Linked DNA regions of Homo sapiens: all the other regions are linked to region 1. The links are contacts of gene promoters, found by promoter capture Hi-C in blood cells and fetal thymus (Javierre and others, 2016). All regions are on one chromosome and are shown on one strand. The core of a region is centred on a gene start or on the middle of the fragment in contact, and the rest is flanking DNA. Distances in the headings are between cores, read along the strand shown.

Evidence for each region. Contacts are between HindIII fragments. The CHiCAGO score rates a contact against its expected background, and 5 or more counts as called.
Region 2: a contact is called between a fragment that was not itself captured here and the fragment with the promoter of KRTAP4-5 in region 1, in 2 of 17 cell types (total CD4 T cells and naive CD4 T cells). The highest score is 7.4, in total CD4 T cells.
Region 3: a contact is called between a fragment that was not itself captured here and the fragment with the promoter of KRTAP4-5 in region 1, in 1 of 17 cell types (endothelial precursors). The highest score is 6.2, in endothelial precursors.
Region 4: a contact is called between a fragment that was not itself captured here and the fragment with the promoter of KRTAP4-5 in region 1, in 4 of 17 cell types (total CD4 T cells, total CD8 T cells, naive CD8 T cells and 1 more). The highest score is 5.9, in total CD4 T cells.

Annotation. Positions count from the first base shown.
Region 1 is chr17:41,148,083-41,151,245 of GRCh38, reverse strand. It overlaps KRTAP4-5 (keratin associated protein 4-5), which reads left to right and starts at 1,421. Exons shown (of 1, transcript NM_033188.4): 1 at 1,421-2,322. The coding sequence starts at 1,479. The coding sequence ends at 2,024. The HindIII fragment of the contact is 5,677 bases long and covers 1-3,163 here.
Region 2 is chr17:41,455,710-41,458,872 of GRCh38, reverse strand. No RefSeq gene overlaps it. Among named protein-coding and RNA genes, the nearest start is that of KRT32, 10 kb to the left of the region's middle. The HindIII fragment of the contact is 807 bases long and covers 1,087-1,893 here.
Region 3 is chr17:40,870,495-40,873,657 of GRCh38, reverse strand. The region is part of intron 1 of LOC105371777 (a long non-coding RNA gene); the gene reads right to left. Among named protein-coding and RNA genes, the nearest start is that of KRT12, 4.9 kb to the right of the region's middle. The HindIII fragment of the contact is 527 bases long and covers 1,420-1,946 here.
Region 4 is chr17:41,412,815-41,415,977 of GRCh38, reverse strand. No RefSeq gene overlaps it. Among named protein-coding and RNA genes, the nearest start is that of KRT37, 10 kb to the left of the region's middle. The HindIII fragment of the contact is 7,068 bases long and covers 1-3,163 here.

The DNA of each region.
Region 1 (3,163 bases), core at 172-2,671:
GTTCTGTCATTTGTGACAACATGGATACATCTCAAGGAAATTATGCTAAGTGAAGTAAATCAGTCATAGAAAGACAGATAGCACATGATCTCACTCACATGATCGCACTCAAAAAAGTTGATATCATAGAAGTAGAGCAGAGAATGAAGATAATCAGAGGCTAGGGGTGGCTAGGGAGTCAGGGGCTTGAGGAGATACTGGTCAAAAGACATATAATTGTAGCTAGACAGGAAGAATCAGTTCAAGAGGTCTACTGTATAGCATAGTGACTATAGTTAATGATGATATATTGTACATACTGTATTCTTGAAAAATTCTAAGAATGGATATTAAGCGTTCTCACCACAAAAAAATGATAGGTATGAGAGGTAATGCATTTATTAGCTAGATTTAATCCTTCCACAATGTATATATACTTCAAAATATTATGTTGTATGTGGTAAATACAATATTATACGTCAATCTGAAAAATAACTAATTGTTTTTAATTTCACTGAGCTTGAGTTCTTTCTATATTAAGCACATCATGCAAGACACAGTAGTGGGGGTAGATAGATTCTTAAAAGTATTATACAGGTGTTACACAGTGTTAGGGAGCCTGGGTGAAGTACAGACAGCCTCTCCTGGGACTGTTTGTTACAGCTGTATGTAAATCTACAATTATCTCAAATTTCTTTTTTAAAAAGTGAAAACACACACCTGCATTATGTTAACAGACAGTTAGAGGCATTTAAAAAAAACAATGAGTTATGGAATAAAAATGGGACTATGTCTTCCGGAATCTAATAGATTAACTGGAGAGACATGACACAAAATATAGGAGAGCAAAGTATCAATTTAAGAAACTGACCCATTAGTAACACCAAGTATAAAAATTTAAGGATATGGAATATGACCCAAAATTTGAAACATTCAGGGAAACCCATTTCAATAGTGTAGAGGTCACCAAGGCCACATGCAGGTATTGCTATCCCTTTGCTTATTGCTTAATAATGACCCACAGACTAGGAATGCCACACTGAGCAGATGGGTTTTCCTCGCTATTGGTCACTAGAGGGAATGCATAACTGGAAGTGTGACTGACCAAATCCCATTTTGGTAGAGGGTACCTGAAGCGAGAGTAAGAAATGCAATTCCAAATGCAGGGAATCACATGAACAGCCCTCTGTGGAGGAAGAGGAAGAGAACGTGGTCTAGAAGATGCTACCGAGGTGTGAATCATGAGAGAAGGCAGACATGATAGATCTTATTACATCCGGACAAGAAAATTTTGTTTTCAACAAGTTTAAACCATTAAATGGGCAAACATTATTGTGTAATCTGATAATCACTTAGTTATTAAGTAAACAAAAACAAGGAAAATGTAGTACCAACAAGACAGCTGGGCAGTATATAAGAGGCTGTGGCCCAAGGACACTTCCAAACTTGAGAACCTCATTCTTCTAGAAATCCACCCAGAACCTCCACCCTCTGACACCATGGTCAGCTCCTGTTGTGGCTCTGTCAGCTCTGAGCAGAGCTGTGGCCTGGAGAACTGCTGCCGCCCCAGCTGCTGCCAGACCACCTGCTGCAGGACCACCTGCTGCCGCCCCAGCTGCTGCAAGCCCCAGTGCTGCCAGTCTGTGTGCTACCAGCCCACCTGCTGCCACCCTAGCTGCTGCATCTCCAGCTGCTGCCGCCCCTATTGCTGTGAATCCAGCTGCTGCCGCCCCTGCTGCTGCCAGACCACCTGCTGCAGGACCACCTGCTGCAGGACCACCTGCTGCTGCCCCAGCTGCTGTGTGTCCAGCTGCTGCAGACCCCAGTGCTGCCAGTCTGTGTGCTGCCAGCCCACTTGCTGCCGTCCCAGCTGCTGCATCTCCAGCTGCTGCCACCCCTCTTGCTGTGAATCCAGCTGCTGCCGCCCCTGCTGCTGCGTGCGTCCAGTCTGTGGCCGAGTCTCCTGCCACACCACTTGCTATCGCCCAACCTGTGTCATCTCCACCTGCCCCCGCCCCTTGTGCTGTGCCTCCTCTTGCTGCTAATGTCTCCTTGTGATATTTGTCATACTATGAATGTCTTCATTAGTCATTTAAAATGCACTGTAGCCAGCCAGTCACTGGAAAAATGAACACTTCCCTGCCAGTTTGTCTCATGTGGCATTCAGAGTGGACATTCAGCTCTTCTAGGAAATGACAGACAATCACATTCATTAAAATATGTTATGCCAGGCCCCAATGCAGTTATTTTTAGATGAGCAGTGTCTTCATTCGAAGGGGACACTAACTGTGATGATCTCATATAATATTGTTTTCATGTATTAATAAACAGCCACTTCCCTAATATTGAAATCTTCTGATTTGTTAGTGATCTCATTGTGCGTGTGTGTGTGTGTGTGTGTGTGTCTTTACCTGTCAGTTCACATCAAGGGCCATCTCTCTTCAAATGCAGGAGAGCATGTTTAAGAGCCTGGGCTCTTGATTCATGTTCCCTGCATTGGAATCACGACTCCCCTAGGTATTTGTTGCGTGGCATGGGGCAAGTTTTTTAACCTCCTCAGGCCTCAGTTTTCTTTCTCTGTGAATAGAGATAATGCATTACATTCTTTAAATGTTAAGAGACATAACCCATGTAATATACTCACCACAGGGCCTGGTACATAATGCAGTATAGGCTCTTAATGGATACAGTTTCTGGCCGAGCGTGGTGGCTCACATTTGCAATCCCAGCACTTTGGGAGGCTGAGTGGGTGGAACACTTGAGGCCAGGAATTCGAGACCAGTGTGGGCAACATAGTGAAATCCCTTCTCTACTGAAAGTACAAAAATTAGTTGGGCGTGTTGGTGCACACCTGTAGTCCCAGCTACTTGGGAGGCTGAAGCAGGTGAATCACTTGAACCCAGGAGGAGGAGGTTGCAGTGAGCCGAGATCATGTCACTGCACTCCAGCCTGGGTGACAGAGCAACTCTGTCTCAATAAATAAATAAATAAATAAATAAATAAATAAATAAATAAATACAATTTCTGCTGTTACTATGATTGAAACAATACCCTGGGCTAGAATAATATCTTAGCATAATTTTCTTTTTGACAGAACAGCAAGAAAATTTGTATCATTGTTGCGCTGTCTTCTACAACTCAAAATTAAGTTTTGGTATATGCCTCAAGTGTCCCTTAAAAACTC
Region 2 (3,163 bases), core at 241-2,740, 310 kb before region 1:
TTGAAGGTTACATGCAAGGACAAAGACTTAAACCCAAGTCTAGCTTCACAGCAGTGTTATTTTAACCATTCTAACTGCCAAATTCCTACCCAGAAAGAGTAAACACTAGTCAAGATTTGGAGAAAGTCTTAAGCTGAGAGGATCTGAAAGGCTTCTTGTAGCTGGTGGCGTTTGAAATAGGTCTTGGAGGTTGAATAGAAGGTCTACAGGGCACCAGATAGGCAAGTAAGTGTGTGGGGATCTTCAGGAGAGCAGGGGGTCATGCTTGGAAGGCCTCAAGGGGTCTTGCTGGCTGGAGCAGTGAGTTCCTGTGAGAGGCTGATGGGGATGAAGCTCAAATGGTAGAAAGGCATCAGAGAGTAGGGGGGCCTTGGGTACCCCACAAAAAGCCTGGATTCTGGACTCTATCCTGAAGGCAATGGGAGGGCTGCTGCAGGATTTGAGCCCAAAGATGACATGACTTGAGTGGCATCTTAGAAAGTATCACCAAGTAACACAGACAGGATAGCTAAGAGGAGGGGTTAGGCTGTGGAAGAAGCTAACAGGGTCTCAGGCAAGACAATGTCAGGGACCATGGAAAAATAAGGAATCAATCTAAGAGACACTGTGATGGACCTGACTTGGCAATGGATTGGCCATGGCAGGTAAAGAGGAGAGAGCTGGGGACAGGAATCTTGAACACCTTTCTGAACCTCACCCTCCAAACACACAGTTCTTCCTTAATGAGCTGAGATGATGTTTCTATTAAGTATCCTCCCTCTGGCCTTGCCAAGAAATGATGAAAAATGGATTGGATCCTGAAGCTGCCTGCAGGCTGCTCTCCAGACATGATCCTGCAGGCATCCCTGGCAGACAAGGTCATTAGCCTGACAGCAGGGACATGAACATACTGCTTAGCAAGCTGTGGTTCCTGGTTGATGGATGGGTAAAATTTCAAGGAGCTGAAATGCCAAGAGAGAGGGGTTCTGGCTAATTGAATTTTCTCATAACTGCGTGCAAACCAGCAATCTTTAATTTCAACCCCGGTGCAAAACTTTTCTGGAATGTGCTCAGCTTGATAAACAACACACAGAACAGACCAAAGCTTTGGTTCTATAATCCTAGACCTGTTCTGTCCAATATGGTAGTTCATAACGACATGTGGCTGCATATACTGAAACATTCGGTATATGAATGTTTCATATACTGAATTGCACTGAGTTGCACTCGTCACACGTGGCTAAGTGGTAGTAAATAAGACAACACAGACATGGACTATTTCCAACACTGCAGAAAGTTCTACTGGACAGAGCTGTCTTAGACTGTCAGAACTAGAAGGAGCCTTCCAGATGATCTGGCTCAGCTTTCCCAGTTTTACAGAAGAGTCATCTCAGACCCAGGGAGGTGGACAGATGTGCTCACAGACACAACCAACAGGTGGAAATTGAAGCCAAGGGTTTTGACGCCAAGCCTCTTAGGTCTCTCCAAGCACTTTATGCTTTCTCCAAGCACCCTAGGTTTATTATTATTTCAGGCTAATACATATTTCCCCTCTCCTTTTCTTTCATTTCCCAAAGAAGGGAGACATTTTCTCTGAGAAGCTGAAACTTCTTCCTGGGAATATAGTTCTCTTAAAAAGCATCGCTAGCAACTACCAGACTCAGCATCTCCTCTTTCTTTGAGCACTGGGCTCAGTAAGAGCAAAGACCTTGAGCTGCAGCCCAGAGCCTCAGCAGGAATGATTGCACAGGAGTTGTGGGCCAGAAGTCCTGGACCCTGGACCCCCTGGGGACTTCCAGAGTCTCCGTTTCCCCAGTGCATATTGTTTCAGTCCAACTCGGTCCCCATTCCCACACCTGTGTGTCTCTCCCACTTGCCAAGACCTGTCTGACTCCCAAGATGACTGTTAAAGCTTTTTATATGAAACCAAGCCCCACAGCCCAGGGCCAGGAGTACCCTCCTCTGCTAGAAGTGAGGCCCATCATCTTCTGTGTCTGGATGGTACTTCAAGCCAGAGGTGTCACGAGCTACCCTCCTGCCTAGCCTGTCTCTTATTTGATGGATGAAGAAGCCGTGGGCATAGACTTTGGGAGATATTTATCCCCCACCAGCACCGGAATCTCCTGGGAACTGGACTCAGTGTACCACTCATGGAGATTCTCAGAGGAACTCTCTCCTCATATCAAAGCATTTGCATCTAATTAACTCTTTATAGGGGAAGAGTTTATAGGGAAATGTAGGCAGGACCCTGGTCAAGTCATAAAACCTCTGTCATATTTGATGTTTTGGAGAAACCCTCACAGGTATCAGGGATCCTCTCTGAGCGGGATTGGAAAAGAAAAGGGTGTGCTTTTTAAAGACACCACTTTCCCCAAGGCTATTCAAGAGTTTGGGCCTCACCCCTGCTGCTCACTGCCCTAGTGCAAAGCACCCTCTTCTGGGGGTGAGAGTGAGGGCCCATGGGCAGAACTGCCATTCAAGGAAGACTGGCCAGAGGGCGACAGCTTCCCGAAAGATCCAGGAGTTGGGTTTGGCATCTGGGAGTTGGGGCTGTGTGTGGACTCTGAATTGCACTGACTGAATCTTTCTTCACCACTATATTAGGAAACCTTTTAGAGAGTGATCAAAAAAAGAATATGCCTCTTCCAGGGTATAACCAGGAAAATCATTAATAATAAAACAATATTCTTTTTGTATTTCATAATTTTTTTTTCTTTTGGAGAGAGAGTCTCGCCCCGTAGCCCAGGCTGGAGTGCAGTGGCATGATCTTGGCTCACTGCAACCTCTGCCTCCTGGGTTCAAGTGATTCTTGTGCCTCAGCCTCCTGAGTAGCTAGGACCACAGGCACATGCCACCATGCCTGGCTAATTTTTGTATTTTTAGTAGAAATGGGGTTTCACCATGTTGGCCAGGCTGGTCTCGAACTCTTGACCTCAGGTGATTCACCCACCTTGGCCTTCCAAACTGCTGGGATTACAGGCGTGAGCCACTGCACCCGGCCTGTATTTCATAAAATGTAACACTTGAATGCAATGATATCAATTCGGCTAAACAGAAAGTTCCTAAGATCATTTGATGTCTATCTTTTTGCCCAACTGATCAAGACAAATTTGTATTTAAATAGCAGTGTCCCTTAATCATAATATGTAAACAAAGTCACCAATGAGCATCTAGGATTAATGGA
Region 3 (3,163 bases), core at 434-2,933, 280 kb after region 1:
AGCATTAATCTTTGTATCTATCTATATTTCTGATATGAGCTAAGAACTAGAATGACATAATCCTATTTCTGACAGGTAAACAGATCCAGAGAGAAGTCTTTATCACACATTAGAATTATCATCAATGTATTTTTTCATTTTATATGAAATTGTCAGTGCAGAAGTGAAGCTATCAAACTCAGAGAGAGCCCCTAGAGGTGAGGTTAGGATGGAAATAACTATTTTTTCTGAGCTCTGGAGATTATTTCTACCCAGAGTTCTGAATCATCTAAAAAGGAGAATGACATGGAGTGATACAAAATCAAAACATGGCCAGTGACCTCCTCAGACACTCTGTTCTCATCCACATGCATCAGGATCAGCCTCAGGTACCTGATTAGACCCCCAAGTAACAATTCCAACTTAAAGCATTAGTAGTGATTTTTATTTTTGAATTCTCTTTCAAACATCTCTGTTTTCTCTCCCCTAGGCTCATTTCCAAGATTCCTCTCATCAGGGTATTATTTTATCATCTTCCTGTCTCCTACCACTTTCAAAATTCTCCCCTGCTTTCAAGAACCATTGATCTCTGGAGCCCAGAAGTCAATCTCACTCATACCCCTTAGGGTCCTTGTTTAACCCTCATCTCAAAAGCACAATACATAAAATGTAGGCAACCCAAAATTCTCTCAGTCACTCACAGGATTTTATAATGTTATCCAAAGTGAAAGATGTTACAGATCAAGGGATCAGCGAGTTGCAGAAAATGACAGGTCTGTCTTACGGGAAAAAACTCAGGTAGAAAACCCTGCAAAGACCAGGACAGAAACCAACCTGACATGAAAAGATGAGGGTATGATTTACTCAATAAAAATCTAAAGACTTGTAAAAACCACATAACTAATTTTCTCTATTTTGAACATTTCCTAAACTCTACAAAAATGGAAGATATAATTCTTTTGAACAGTTTGCCCTGGCTATAATCATTTTCCTCTCTGCCTCAACTTATGCAATCACTCTGCCAACAAGCCCAAGATTGTTTATTGTTTTTTACATCACCACTGCCTTATACATTAATGTGGCTGTCAAAGAAAATTATTTTCACTTCTAAAACCTCTAAAGCAGAGTCTTGATTATTTAACTTAGCCTCCCACTTAAAAAAAAAAAAGCCACTGAAGAAGAAATATTTCCCTTTTCAACTTCTGAAGTTGCTCCCCATTCATAACTGAATTCAGAATAAATATTGGTCAAAGCATACCAGTAAATTAGGGCACAGTCATTTTCAAATGAAATGAATTTCAAATGACACATTCAAACACATTAAGACTTAACTTCTTTCAAATGAAATCATTCAAGGAGTGCAGTGATAAAGTTCAGCGAAACACTAGGCTAGGACTCAGGATAAAAAATAAATTAGATGTAGTACCTACCTAACAAGCTTAGTCTAGGATAATATGTTATATGTATAGAAACATAAACAAATAATATATAAACATAATTTTTAGAGATTGAGCAATATTATTTAAATTTTACCATAGGCATTAGAGTTGGAAAGTGTACCTTTCAGCACAAAATCAATTCCAAGTTCAAAAATTCAACTTAATCATATTCCCGTATTATGTGATCAAATCACTGAGGTACAATTTTGAACTTGGCACATTTCTTTTGACATTTTATTTGCTTCTGTTTTCATTTCTATGGCAGTAAAATGGAATCTCTCTGTCTTGGGGGACACTTGGGAGTGAATAATAGTTAACAACCATAACATCAAGTTCTTGTGTGGGGAGTGCAAGTTTAACTTGTGCTTTATAAGATCTCTGGAGATGTAGTTACAGGTCAAAGCTAAAATGAAAACCGCATTTGCCTGTGTGTTTACAGAATTTCATGTGTCATGTTGTTGCTTATAAGCCATGAAAAGTCATTCTCTAGGTCTCAGCCCATACACTGAGAAATTCAAGGAGAAAGCTTAAAAGAAAAGAAAAAAAAAAGAGCACCTCCTGTTAGATGTGCAGGGCAGAAGCCTAGTGTCAGGTGTCATAGCTAGGGGATGTCAGAGTATCCTCTGCCCTTTTTATTGTCACCGCCAGCAGCAAGGTTGTGGTATCTATAGAAGGCACTGCAGGCCCGAATCCTATCTCTGCCTCCTCCCAGCTGCATGGGCGTAAATAAATCACTTAACATCTGGACTCTCAGATTGCTCATCTGTAAAATAGGATAAAAGTACCACCTGAAGCTGGGCGCCTTGAGGTGGCTCATGCCCGTAATCCCAGTGCTTTGGGAGGCCAAGGCAGAAGGATCACTTGAGGCCTAAAGTTCAAGACCAGCTTACGCGATATAACAAGACTCCATCTCTACAAAAAAATTAAAAAAAAAAAAATAGCCAGTGTTGTGGTGCCCACCTGTAGTCCTAGCTACTTGGGAGGCTGAGGCAGGAGGATTGCTTAAGCTCAGGAGTTCAAGGTTTCAGAGAGCTATGATCACACCACTGCACTCCAGCCGGAGTGAGGGCAACCAAGCAAGACCTTGTTTCAAACAAACAAACAAATAAAACCAGTACCACTTTAAGAGCTTGCCGTGAAGGTTAAAAAATAATGTCTGTAATTCAGCTGGCCCAGTGTCCAAAAAGTAGTAAGTACATAATAACTGATAATTCAAACAAGACCAGCTCAGTCAAAATGCTTATAATATAGATTTAAGGAATCCTTGGTAAAAACCTCCATATGGGGCTAAAATCACTGGCATTTCCACTGACCAGATTTTCATTCTCTCAAGAAATTAAACAAATGGATCATGGCTTCTCTCAAGCTGAGACTGCCTTAGGTTGCTACATTCTTTCCACATCTATAGCAAATGTGTGATTTCTGCAAATCTCTTGCTTAAACCCCCTTTATTTAGAAATCCCACTTGCTTGCTCTTTGTGACGAGTTTAGGTTGGGGAGAAATATGTCCCTTCACATTTGTCCCTTATGTAATAATATAAAAGGAAGTTGTAATTGGATTTCACCACGGGTTCATCATTTGTGTCCCTGGGAAAGTGGCTTTTTTTTTTTTTTTTAATAAAAAGTCAAAACAGTCCTTCCATTTGCCAGAATTGATCCCAGGTATTCCTTATGGAGGTTTGCCATGGGCTTCAGGTGTGACCCCTCGGCATCTGTCCCCTAATCCCCAGTGGGCACTGCTAGTT
Region 4 (3,163 bases), core at 458-2,957, 260 kb before region 1:
AAGGATGAAAAGACACAACTATATGGGAAGCATATGGTATAATACTTGGTGGCACATAGTAGGTGGTCAAATAATAACACAGTAGGCCGCACATAGTAGGTGTCTATCTAATTTGCGTGTATAGATTTGTGAATGTGTGAGAGAGAATTAAGTAAAATATTGTATACCAAGTGCCAAGCTCGGTTCCCTTCACATAATAGATGTCAATAGATATTACTTCATGTGACCTTTATCTGTCCTTTATGAACATTGTTTTTCGCGTGGACTGGCCTCTTCCCCACAGGCATAAGCAACACAGTGTGCATATTTTCCTTTTTGTCTCTCCTCTCTCCTTCATCCTAGATATCCTCCTAAAACAAACCTCAGCAAAGAAGAGCAAACTAGGAAAACAAACAGAACTTGCTTATTACATTGGAGAAAACTGCATGCTAACTGATTTGAAGTACAGTAATCCAAACACTGGCTCCTCTTGAATTCATCAAATCCTGTTTTGTGACCTGGTGCTTCATTCACCTAGGATGAAGTCACCACAAAACTTGTCTATTGCTATGGAGCAGTGATTCCGTCTTCCAAGGGTGGTCCCCAGACCAGCAGCATCAGTGTCATGTGGGAACTTGTTAGAAATGCAGACTCCCTGGCCTGACCCCAGACCGCTTGAATCAGAAACTGTGGTGTGGGGCCTGAAAACCTGCATTTTTTGCAAGCCCTCTGGGTGATTCTGATGCTGGTTAAAGTTTGACCACTGGTGGAGATGTTATGAAAATAGAAGCAGACAATATTTTTAGCATAGAGGAGTACAAACTTCACTCTTACAGGCTTCAGAAATGCAATTTGGCTCTTTGGGTTGACATTTTGTGTCATTCAAACTCATTTCTTTGGGGGTCCAGTACTTGGGACAGGCCTGTTGTTGGCTGTTGCATTTCTGAAGTTGTACCCAGTTCTCTTGAGCCCACTTCTGCTTCTGAGTGTTTTCTTGTGTTCATCCTCTTTTTTTTTTTGTCACCCAGGCTGGAGCACAGTGGCTCGATCTCGGCTCACTGCAACCTCCACCTCCCAGGTTCAAGCAATTCTCCTGCCTCAACCTCCCGAGTATCTGGGACTACAGGCGTGTGCCACCACACCCAGCAAATTTTTGTATTTTTAGTAGAGATGGGGTTTCACCATGTTGGCCAGGATGGTCTCGATCCTTGATCTCGTGATCCGCTTGCCTCGGCTTCCCAAAGTGCTAGGATTACAGGCGCGAGCCACTGCGCCTGGCCTGTTCATCCTCTTTTTCTGGAAAACTGTCTCCCATCTTTCCTGCCCATCCAAGTCTTCCCAATCTTAAGTTCCAGACAAAGTGTCTTTGATGGCCCCTCTATATCTCTAAGCTCCAGTCACTTCTCCCTCCACTGAGTTACGTGACCTCTTTTTCTGCTCTCAGCTTTTTGAGGGTGGAAATTTCTCCTTTTCATCTCTGCATCCCCCATCCCCTTGAGAAGGGCTTTGGTATAACAGGAGTTCAGGAATATCAGACATTCAGAGTAAGTCACCAGGATAAGGCAAATCATGCCTTGGAGAATATCACCCACATCTGTATAGAGTTACAGAGAAGGGTCCCCATGCGTCTCATTGACTGTATATGGGACCAACTGGTGGCTGGCTGGTTGTCATGGCTGAATAGCCAGTGGCTCCAGCATGGTTTACACAAAAGTCCTGGGCAAGAAGGTTTTCTGGCCATCTACTGGCAGCCTTTCAATCTAAACTAATCAGAAATCCCACTGTACAGCCCGCACTTAAGAGTGATAGTAACTGTTACATCATGGAGCATGTCCAGGGAAACATTCCTGGGATGGCAAGGGGACTTTGAACCATGCTGAATGCAGAACCAGGAGTAAGAAATCTCACATCTGCCACAAAGAGCTGAGAATATGGCAGAATGATTAGATTTATCCTGTATGGGACACCATGGGGGAGAACTGGAGAGTAAATGAACTAAAGGGCCAACTCTCTGACTTACTTGCCAATGTATTACTAGCCTCCAGCTCAGCCCCTGGTTGGCACAGAGTAGGTACTTCATAGCTATTTGTTGAATGAATGAATGAATGACCCAACAAAAGCTATAGGGAGAGGTAACACGAAGGTAGATTTGTGAAGACTTTCTAAAAATTCTCTATAATGTGAGTGCCTTAAGGCTGAGCTAGCTGCTGTTAATTTTCTGGATACCAGTGTCTTGCACAAAGCCTGGGAAGCTGTTTGTAAGCCACAGGAACTGATGGTGTAAGCTCTCCTGGAAAATGGTGGACTAGATGACTAGTTGGAGGAAGGTCATCGAAGGGATTTAATGCAAATGGGTACTAGACTAGAGGACCCTGAAGTCCCTTTCGTCCTGGAGATGCTATGTTGTAGTGCCAGCTGAAACACACTTGCTGCTTCAAGGGCCCTCGTGGTGAATTCATTCATCTTAGGAATGCGGTCAAATTAGCATCTTTGTTAGCATAGACTGGAAGCTGGCTAGCTGCCCTTTTCCAGGGTGTATTGAACAAATGGCCACTGGCTTATTTGTTTTAGAAATAGGGGAGGCCATAAAGGTTCTGATGCTCTGAGTGTGTCTGAAGATTAAGGAAATTTAAATTTTGTTCTAGAGTCTCCCAAGCAATGGATAATCAAGGTAGATGCATTTCAAAGAAATGCAAAAATATTTCAAAAGATGAAAGATCAAAGTTCTTGAGTACGTATCTTCTGTAAACAAGGGTGATGAGGGACTCAGTCTGGTGAAAGGGTCAATAGAAAGGAAAGATGCCTGGGAAGGTGGGTGAGGCCCTGAGAACAGACACCATAAAGTGTTAATCACTGCCTGCCTTAATTAGCCTGTAGACTCCAGTACACAGAAGCATAATTTTATTTTCTGAAAATTGCAAACCATCAGTTTTATTATGAGCCGTTTTTTTCTCACTCCCAAAACGCTTATCTGTTTCACGTATGCACAGGGAAAGTCTTAATTGCCAACATCTGTTTTATAGGTTGTGTATTGATTTTAATTCAGTTCAAAATACTTAAAAATTTTTAAATTAGATTTCTTATTTAACCCAAGGAGTATTAAAAACTGTGTTAGTTTTCAAACACCAAGATTAATTTTGAACTTAGGTTTCATTTTCAGTTTTCTAATAATTTGTGTAAAGGA